Linked DNA regions of Homo sapiens: region 2 is linked to region 1. The links are contacts of gene promoters, found by promoter capture Hi-C in blood cells and fetal thymus (Javierre and others, 2016). All regions are on one chromosome and are shown on one strand. The core of a region is centred on a gene start or on the middle of the fragment in contact, and the rest is flanking DNA. Distances in the headings are between cores, read along the strand shown.

Evidence for each region. The method cuts DNA at HindIII sites, captures the fragments that hold promoters and counts their contacts. A CHiCAGO score of 5 or more calls a contact.
Region 2: a fragment that was not itself captured here is called in contact with the fragment with the promoter of MCU in region 1 in 1 of 17 cell types (fetal thymus); the score reaches 5.5 in fetal thymus.

What each region holds. Positions count from the first base shown.
Region 1 is chr10:72,689,456-72,694,735 of GRCh38, forward strand. It overlaps MCU (mitochondrial calcium uniporter), which reads left to right and starts at 2,688. Exons shown (of 8, transcript NM_138357.3): 1 at 2,688-2,846. The coding sequence starts at 2,697. RefSeq lists enhancers at 2,306-2,365, 4,036-4,125 and silencers at 2,566-3,025, 3,116-3,165, 3,186-3,275. The HindIII fragment of the contact is 1,146 bases long and covers 2,343-3,488 here.
Region 2 is chr10:72,075,887-72,081,166 of GRCh38, forward strand. The region is part of intron 1 of SPOCK2 (SPARC (osteonectin), cwcv and kazal like domains proteoglycan 2); the gene reads right to left. Among named protein-coding and RNA genes, the nearest start is that of SPOCK2, 10 kb to the right of the region's middle. RefSeq lists an enhancer at 4,891-5,280. The HindIII fragment of the contact is 3,129 bases long and covers 688-3,816 here.

The DNA of each region.
Region 1 (5,280 bases), core at 1,438-3,937:
TCAGTCTCTCAAAGAGCTGGGATTACAGATATGAGCCACTGTGCTTGGCCCTCAATTTTTTAATGGTTGAATAATTTTCTGTTACAAAGTTAGTGTCTAATGTATTTAACCATTTCCCTATTGGAAGACATTGAGGTTTTCTTCAACTTCTTTCTCATGAAAGTTACAATTTTTAAAAGTTTTCTGTGGTTGTCTTGCCCTCCTTTTTAAATGTAGTATCTCTGGAGTGATCAGCACAATCTCTGGCACATAGCAGGTATGTTAATTCCCTTTCCTTCTCTCTCTATATAATGTGTGTGTATATACAGGCACACACACACATACTTTTTTTTAGGTTTGAGAAGAACTTTCTGTTGAGCTATCTACACTTTCTCCTTATCAGGCTTGGCCAACCAGCTCATATGAGATATGTCCTTTGCAGCTATGAAGAAGTTTTTCTCTGTGAGGAGATAATTGATATTTGTTTAAATTAATTGCCGGCCTTGGATTATCAACACCCAGAACTGAGTATAGTCAGTGAATCCTCAGATTTATACAGCCTATCTCTCTCTGGTGCATCAGTGGTTTCATCTTAGTAGATAAAAGATGACACATTTTGGTAAATAGGTAGGATGAAAACTTTTGCTAATACTGCCCATTTCATGTTTGTGCACTTAAAAGTATTATTTACTTAGTTCTTTTGCTAATGCATATGAGTAAATCTCACTGCAGGATGCACATCTAATTTTCATGCTTGGAAAAATAGAGTAAAGGCAATTCTAGTAAAATTTCTTAAAGTGGAAAGTGGAAATGGAGCAATCCTGATTCATAGCTAGATCTGGTGACAGCACAGAAAATAAAAACAAAACTAAAATCCATGGTGATCTCTGTAAGAAGGCATGAAGGGGTGAGAGAGAAAATGGCACAGCATGGGTAAATACATCAAATGCAGTTGGGATAAATATAGATGGGTGGAAAATAATTGTAAGGGAAATTGTTCCAGGAATGTCATGGATTTCCAACTAGGGGGATTACTGTGTGCAGCTGTTGAATGGGGGCTCATTCTTGAGGTCTCAAGTTCCACCTGTTGGGCAATAAAGCCTTTTGAGTGAGTGACATGATATCTACCCCGGAGAAGCCAATCATCTCACTGTTTTGGTGTAGGTGGGGCATAAGGATTAAACAAACAAAAAACTTCCACGTCATTTTTTAGCTATTCTTGGCCAAGAAGGTACCATTTCAGTCAAACTTTAAAGAATATTCTTAGAATAAGTGATAACATTTTCTTCGTATTTATGTGTGTGTTTTGTTTTTGTTTTAAATTTATCATCTAAGGCTACACTACAAAGATGTTTTCCAAAATTTAAAATAATGCTTGTATTTGCTTCCCAAACTATTTTCCTGCTCCAGATTTTAAAAAGAGGTGTGAGAATTTAATCAGCTCATAATAATAAACAGCTAGCAAGGAAATACTCTTCTAAGGAAATTCAGGACCCAAAATCTTTCTTAGGCAGTATTCAAGGAGCCCTCATTGTGAGTTTAAGTGGAAAGAAGTGTTTTTCAAGAGAAAGTGTTTGTTATTCCAAAGCGTATTCTGATAACTATTTCGGCAAAATTATGAAGCATCATTAAAATAGCCTTTTACATGAATTTTTTTTTTTTTTTTTGAGATGGAGTCTTGCTGTGTCGCCCAGGCTGGAGTGCAATGGCCCGATCTCGGTTCACTGCAAGCTCCGTCTCCCGGGTTCACACCATTCTCCTGCCTCAGCCTCCGGAATAGCTGGGACTATAAGCGCCCGCCACCACGCCTGGCTAATTTTTTGTATTTTTAGTACAGATGGGGTTTCACCGTGTTAGCCAGGATGGTCTCGATCTCCTGACCTCGTGATCCGCCCGCCTCTGCCTCCCAAAGTGCTGGGATTACAGGCGTGAGCCACCGCGCCCGGCCTTACATGATTTTTTATTACGTTATTAATGTGTTCTGTTTCTGTAAATGCACACAAAGTCAAATATGATAAAATAGTGCTGTTTCTGGAGAGTGTGAGAATATCCGTATAAAGGTGCTGTAAAAATGAATTGGGTATTTGAGATGTATACACGTCAGTTAATTCACTCTGAAGGCATGTACTCATTCTGGGACTTTGATATTGTAATCGTTCTACCTCTCCTATATTATGCTACGCATCACAGTCATTAGATCACTCCGTGATGTAGAGTTAATTTCAGCATATCTAAATATTATCAGTTATGAATGATAATTCTAGGCGTGTAGTTGAGAGTTACAGCATACACCGTTAATGGTTATTAATTTGGTGCCTATTTTGCCAACTTAGAACACTCACTTAGAACTCAACTTCGAACAAAGCTTTTCACAAATATCTATATCCCCCGTTACTCTTATCATAGCTCTATTGTTGGTGAAGATTAGCCGAACTGAACATGCCATCTCTATTGCTGTTATTTTCACGGGTTTGGGTGTCAATTATGGGTTCCCTAGAATTTGCCCGTAATTGACTATGTCCCACTATAGGTAACTCTGGAAGGGACTGGCAGCTTCCAGTGTGGTTCTCCCGCCTGTCGATTGGACCTTGCAGGAAGCCCCGCCTCATCAACTCAGTCAAGGGCTTTAGTTGGCCCGGCGTCGGTGAGTGGCGGGTCTTAGCTCCGCCCTGGCCGTCCGCTGCGCTGCCTGGGTCGGCGCCGTTTCCAGTTGAGAGATGGCGGCCGCCGCAGGTAGATCGCTCCTGCTGCTCCTCTCCTCTCGGGGCGGCGGCGGCGGGGGCGCCGGCGGCTGCGGGGCGCTGACTGCCGGCTGCTTCCCTGGGCTGGGCGTCAGCCGCCACCGGCAGCAGCAGCACCACCGGACGGTGAGCGAGCGCGCCCGGAGGCTCCGGGGAGGGCGGGGCGGCGCTGGCGTGTGGGAGCCGCCGGCGGGCAGGCCGCCGGGGCAGCAGGCGAGTTACCTCAACTCCCGGCCGCTCCGGAGGTTGCCGGGCACCGAGGAGCCGCCGTGCCCTTCAGGCGCCTGCGGCGGCGACCAGGAAGGGAGGGCGGGCGGGAGGAAGCCGAGAGGAGGAGGAGGGGCGACGGCGGGGATGTTCCCGCAGGACTGGGGACACCAGGGCGGGGAAGGCACGGGACTTGAACCTCTCCCCGACTCGCCCCCAATCGCGTTCCCTCCCTTCTTCGTTCTTAACAGCCCTGCCCCAAGGCTCCCTGAACGGAGCCAGATGGAAGTTGTCCCCTTTCCCTCCTCCTCCGGGCGGGTTGGGGAGTTCTGAGTTGCCGCGGCCGCCTTGTGTGTGCCAGGAGAGTGGCAGTGCCATGCTGCTGGGAGCTGCCCCGGAGAGCAGCCCAGGACCCCGGCGGGGCCGCCCCTCGTCCTCTCTCGTCCCCGAGGGGTCGGGCAGGAAGGAAAATCAAACTTTATTCCCCTCTGTGACTTCCTCTGTGTGTGTGCATGGGGAACCGGCTCCCTCGAGATGGATGCTGCATTGCTTCAGGAGGCAAGCTTCATCCTCTTGGGTCCTTAAAGGTGCTTTTGGGGGTCCTTTCGAGGGCTACTGTATAAGCGTGTTCACGCGTGCCTGAAGCGGGAAGGGTGGTCAGCAGGCACAGGAGAAGCGAATATGGTAAGTTGTTGACAGAGGCAGAGATTTGGTGGTTGTATTAACCAGTTGTTGCTGGGTTTCATTGGCTGGCAGAAAAAGAGGATTTCTGTTTGAACACTCTTGGGTGAGTGTGTGTGTGTGTGTGTGTGTGTGTGAGAGAGAGAGAGACAGAGTGTGAGAGAGATTTCTTTTTTCAATTGCAAGAGATGAATTTGGCATGGAGTTCTTAACCTAACAAGTCAGGAGGTTTCCTTCCCTTGGACTTTCTAGACCTATATGTGTTGGTCTCTGGCCAGCTCTGAGGGAAAGAATGTAGGTTTTATTTGCTGGGGCTGAGTTGTATAGTGTGATTATTGGAGGATCACTGCAAACAGCTTGATAGGAGAAACTACAATAGTACCTTCAACCCTCAATAAACACATCGCCTGCCTTGTTCTGATCATAACTCTTAAGAGGAAACTGAACTGGAGCTCTTCGGAGAGGATACTCCTAAGGCCAATGACAGCATCAAAATCGAGTGCCTGAAAGATCTATGAAAAGACCTAATGCTCTGCAAAAGCAAGGTTGTATTGTTATTATTAGTCATAGGTATGGACCCTATCCTCATTCTTGTGAGAAGATTGTACCTCTTTTTATTTGGCATACTGGCATATTGCTTTGCTGAAGCTTTTGGGTGACAGCCAAGAGCTTTTCCACAGTTCAATTTAATTTGCATGTTTCATAGCCTCTAGTTATGTGTTTTGTTCTCTTAAAAACATAAGGCCACCCCAAATTTTGATTGCATTCCCCTTTCCGTCGAACTACTTAAAGGCTTCCCAAGTTGTCCTTAAGTCCATATTTTGATAAGACATCTTCTGACTTTGCACAGTTTTTAAGACTGTTTGGGTGTGATATTCATTTAGCATTTTAAAAAATTTGTGCCTTGTATATTTTCCACTATGCAAATTTGTCAGGCTGTGAGTGTCTCCCTTGTGGGGATACTTCACGAAGGTGTTCTCTGTGCTATTCTAGGGTGGGTAAAAATGAAGTGCTGAATTTGTAACTGAAAGCACAATTAAAACGAAGTGTTATTTCTAAAGGGCAGGAATGTTATGGGAATGGTGACTTGTACATGAATTTAGAATTGTAAGATTTTGAAAAAAATTGAACCTGATTATTTAAAGTGTATAAACATTTTATTTTTCTACAATTCTTCTGAAGCCATCATGTATACAGCTGTTTCCATAGGATAGTCTGTGATTCTTTACAAGAAATTCCATTTAAAAGATATTGAGGCCCTAAAAAGAGAGAGACTTGGCCAAGGTTACGTTAGCTAATACGTAAGTTTTAGGACTCCCACTCATCTGAGATATTCTCACCTCTTATTGTGTTCTTTTCATTGTAAAGTGCAAATGCTCCTTTACATCTCTCTCCTCCCTTATAAAATTTACTATTGTCCATTATGAAAGTATTGCTATTTCAAAACCCCATGAATGGGAATTCTCCTGTAAGTAGGTGTTGATTTGAGTACATATATTAGGTGAATATGGGAGCAAACAACTTACCAGAAAGAATAGATGTTCTGGTAAAGGTCCCTGAGAGACACTAAGGTTGAATCTTGCTTGGGAGACATCCTGTGTATGTGCAGCAGATGGCAGTCTGCATTGGAATGGATCACAAGTCCAGTTTGTGCCACTTTTGTTCCGCTGTA
Region 2 (5,280 bases), core at 1,002-3,501, 610 kb before region 1:
CCCCGACCAGTGCACCTTGGGCAAGCACCCGACCTCGAGGGGCTCAGTGCCTATCTCCCAGGACTACTCAGAGATTAAAGCAGATGGCACCTGCGGGGTGCCTGGGGTCCAGGAAGCACTTAACAAATCAAAGCTGCTATGATGGAGAAGAGACCCCCGGACTGCAAGTGCGGAAAATGAGGGACAGAGATGCCACATGAGGAACCCCAAAAAAGTGGAGAGGGAGAGGCCACCATGGGGACAGCAGAGACCAGAAGGGATACGAGGAGAGTCCCCTAGGAGGTCTTGTGGGGAGGAATGACGAGGAAGTCCTCTGGGCAGCTGGGGAGTGGCCACTCTGAGGGTAAAACTCAAGGACACACTGAGGGGTCCCTGAGGCCAGGTGTGGGCTGGCGCCACCTTTAAGCTGAAAAAAAGGTGTTTGTTGGCAAGTGCAAATAATGCCTTTCAGTGCAGTGTTGGGTGTCTATTTATGGCACCCCAGTGGGCTCATTAGCAGTTGTGAGAAATAGTCTGATCAGGGCACCTGGGGCTTCTCAGGAAACAGAGGCCCCGTTCTACACCTGAGAGTGGTGGCAGGTGGCTCTGCTGCCGACCTCACCTGGAAAATGGGGATTTGGAAGAGCTCGTGGCTTGTATTGCATGGTGCTTATATATGCTTATCTATCTACCTATCTATATGAGTAAAGCTTTTAATTTAAAAAAATGTTTTAATAGAGATGGGGTCTTGCCATGTTGCCCAGGCTGGTCTTGAACTCCTGGGCTCAGGCAGTCCTCCTGCCTTAGACTCCTACAGTGCTGAGATTATAGGCGTGAGCCACTGCACCCAGCCTGCATGGTGCTTTTAGAGTAAGTTCTCTCCAGGCATTTGGATGGGTCTGCCTTTTATCCTCACAGTCCTGTGAAGTAGTCAGAGCCAATAGGATCAACACCAGAAGAAAGGAGAAAACGAAGGCTCAGAGAGGCAGAGCAACTGGCCAGAGATGGCAAGACAAAAGAGGAGCTGAGTCAGGGTTCCCCATCGCCCCCTCCCACCCCACAAGTTAGAGTCTCTCTCCTTAAGAGAGGACCAGCATCTGCACTGAGGAGGAGGAGGCAGAGAGAGGACATAGAAGGGGCACTGGACCAGGAGTCCACTTTCAGCCTGGCCCACGGTGTGTCCTCAAAGAAGTCACTTCCTCGTTGTTGAGGACCTCAGTGGTGACTGCACCTTAGAATCAGCCGAGGAGCTCTTTATTTTTATTTATTTATTGAGACAGAGTCTTGCTCTGTCACCCAGGCAGGAGTGCAGTGGTGCAATCATAGCTCACTGTAGCCCCGAACTCCCAGGCTCAAGCGATCCTCCCACCTCAGCCTTCCAAGTACCTGGGAGCACAGGCATGTGCCACCATGCCTGTCTAATTTTTATTGTGGTGGTTTTTTTCATAGAGATAGGGTCTTGATATGCTGCCCAGGCTGATCTCGAACTCCTGGGCTCAAGTGATCCTCCTCCCTCAGCTCCCCAAAGCACTGGGGTTACAGGCATGAGCCACTGTGCCCTTCCCCAAGGAGCTTTTTAAACCTTCCAGCACGCACATGCTACCTGAGACCCCTGAAATCCCATGGGTGGTACCCAGCTCGGGCCACGCTTCTGTGCTGGCTCTAGGCAGGCAGCTTAGAGACCACTGGGCCAGCCATCAGGCCTCAGGTCCCTCCCGCTCTGTGCTTATGTCTAATATTTTGCTTATGTTCTTGGGTGTCTTCACCCCAAACACGGGGCCTCTGGGATGAAAAAGAACAGCCATTCTTCCTCCCTCCGAGGGTGCCTCACACAAAGCGATACAAGGTGTGCTGAGGAGCAGGCCGGCCCTGGGAGAACCCAGGCTCCTGCTTCCAATTCCAGGCCCGTTCCTGGAGCACGCTTACCGTGCCACCCTCACCAACCCAAAGACTGTCCTGCCCCTTCCCCTCCCGAATCCCTCTCGCTTGCCCTCCCTGCCCTACACCCACCGGCCAGGACCACCCCAACCCGAAAAACTGCAGCGCCTCCTGAGGGTCTCCCTCCTCCCACTGTCTTCCACACGGCTGCGGCCACCCGGATCCTTCCAAAACACAATTCTGACCCGGTCTCTCTCTCTTTGAAACTGAATATACAGTTTGATCTCATTTTGGGGAAAAAGAAAGTGAGTAGGTGAAAAGGATTTATACCAAAATGGTAACAGTCATTTCCACTGCTGGGTAGGAATACAGAGAATTCTGACATCTTTCTGCTTTTCTCCAACTTTCCCCAAAATTTCTGCAATGAACATATATTACTTTGTAATAAAGAGAAAAAACATAATCATAATCATAATAAATATAAATAATAGGCCAGGCGCGGTGGCTCACACCTGTAATCCCAGCACTTTGGGAGGCCAAGGCGGGCGGATCACGAGGTCAGGAGATCGAGCACCCTGGATAACACGGTAAAACCCCATCTCTACTAAAAATACAAAAATAGCCGTGTGTGATGGCGGGCGCCTGTAGTCCCAGCTACTCGGGAGGCTGAGACAGGAGAATGGCGTGAACCCGGTAGGCAGAGCTTGTAGTGAGCCAAGATCACGCCACTGCACTCCAGCCTGGGCGACAGAGTGAGACTCCGTCTCAAAAAAATAAAGAAATAAATAATAAAAATAAAATAAATTTTAAAAATAATAAAAAATATAATAAGTATTATATTTTGAAAGCCTTTCACGGGTTCCCAGTCACCTACAGAAGAAATTCCATCTTCTCTTGATCTCTCCCTGGCTACCCCAGCTCCAGGTCCTTCCTGCAAGGTTCCAGCATGGCCAAACCCCAGCACAGCTGTCTCCATCCAGAATGCAAGTTCACATCAGCCCCAGAATTTCTACTCATCTCCCAAAACCCAGCTCAGCCATCATCTTCCCGAGCCCCACTCCTTATCCTTCAGGCCAGCTGTGCCTCACAGAAGTCTACCATTGTTCCAGTGACACCAGGCAATGTCGCCTCTGCCTCACTCCGCCCTAGTTAAATAGCCAGTTCCTTGAGAGCAGAGACCATGTAAATTTCTTCTCTCTATGCCCAACATCTAGTACCTAGTAATACACACTCCTAACAATAGCTGACATCTTTATAGCAATTACCACGTGGCAAGCATTATGCTAAACACTTCACATTCATTGGCTTGTTTCCTCTTCACAACAGCTCTAAGAAACATTACTATTATTATCTCCATGTCTCAGATGATAAAATTGAGGCTCAGAGAGGTTAAGTGACTTAGGCAGGGTCACACAGCAATTGCACAGGAGAAGAGTGCTGCACCCAGAACTGTGATTCCAGAATCCGTGCCCCTAACCAGCACTCCATAAATGTTAGCTGATGAAAAAAGTCCTAGGCCAGGGGTGGGTCCCAGGAGGCCCAATCCCAGCCCACAGGTGGTTTCTCCTACCACACCAACTCTGCTTCAAGTCCTAGGCAGGGAGTTTTGCAGCCAGGAGAGGAGGGTCTGGTGGTGGAAGGGGAAGACACCTGGGGGCCCCCGTTCTCCAGGCATTTTTCAGAAACCCCTTCACATGACCCCTGGTTCAGCTGGTTTGGAGCTAACCCATCTTCAGCTTTGATCTCTGCAGCTCAGCTCAGTTGCCATGGAGACGGTGCCCACTGAGCCAAGCTGGGGGAGACAGCAGTGAGTGCGCAGGCCTAGTCAGGCTTAGGGGGCACATGCTGGGTGTTTCCAAGTGCTGTTTACTTCCTGTCATTTTAATTAGCACCCAAATCACCCGCTCACTTCACAGCTTGAATTAACCCAATCTCTCCCAGCTTCTCCATCTGGTATGAAGCTTGGGACCTAGCAGCGAATCAGCAAAGAAGAGCAGCCCTCCAGACCCTGGCTTATGGGGTCAAGATCCACCTGCTTCTTTGCAGCACAGTGTGACAGAGAGACCTCACCCCCTACACCCCTCACCACCAAGGACTCAGGGGCCTGGGCTCCTGCTTGGCCTTGCCACTGACTGCCAGCAAGTGAGTCGCTTCCCTTGCTGGACTGGCTTCCTTGGCTGTAAAATAAGGATGACCCCCTTGCCTTCCCCTCTGAGCTGCAGAAGAACCCAGGCAATCATGTCTGCAAGGGGACTTTGTGAACTGAAGCTCCATACTTTCAAAAGACACAAGACAGGACACCTGAACCCCGGGTTCTCTGGCACACACCCGGGGAGCCTAGGGACAGGACTGGGCAGAGGTTCTGTAGGGTCTCAGTGTTACAAGGGGTCTCAATATGGACATCTGACATTGTCTCCACTTGAGGACACACAGCCAGAGGCACAGCGACAGGACGGAAAGAAGACAGTCATCATAAGACTGAATACACCACAATTTCCCTAACCCTGTTACGGCATTTCTTCATTTTTTAATAGATCAAGAATCTCTAAAAATGGAAGTGGGCCAGGCCTGGCTCAGCCTCTGAGAGGCCCTGTATCTGCCATTATTTTGGCCTCATTCCTCAGGCAACGGGGCCTGTGATGGAGGCCAGTCCACTGAAGAAGGCCCAGGACTGGAGAGAAGCTTGCCTCTGTGGCCTCCTCCTGCCCTCCCTGGAAATAGCCACAGGGCACAGACAGAAGGACTCAGAAAAGAGCAAGGTGGGGCCCAGTGGGGACACCTGGGATCCTCCTCCGCTGAGGATTAACACCCCATCACACACCTGGGAGAGGGCACCTGGGGAGGCAGTGTCCCTGTGAGGGGGTGGGGGTGGCTGGGAAGTGGGGGGCAGAGGGGCCAGTCATTAAATACTTGAGCCTCTCTTGGAGGGGGCGGCAGAGGCTGTGATAGGCCTGGATAAACAGAAGGAGACAGGCATCTAGAAGACTCTGGCCTCCCACCTCCTCTGCCCTCAGAGGAATTTCCTTGGAGGACAAAAATGTGCATATCATCACTCCCTGCATGCCAGGAGCCGGGCTGGGCCTGGGCTCAGGTATGCCTGCGCCAACACCCACCTGCTGCCCGGGCCCTGACCTCCCTGCTGGTCCAGTGGCATCTTGGTGGCTGCCCTAGTCCTTGGTCCCTGCTCCGGGCGGTGGCCCCAATAGTCCATAAAGGGCAGAGAACAGCGGGAGGTGTGAGGGGCCCGGGGCTATGTTCTGAGCTGCCTCAGGACCCTGGCTTCCCTCCTGGAACATGGGGGTGGGGGTCAGAATTCAAGCCCAGGGAGGTCTGAGGAAGACCCCAGGGCTGGAGCTGAGCCACAGGCCGTGGTGCAGGGGAAGAGCCCCAGGCCACAAGAGGAGTGGGGTTGCAGGTGCCTGC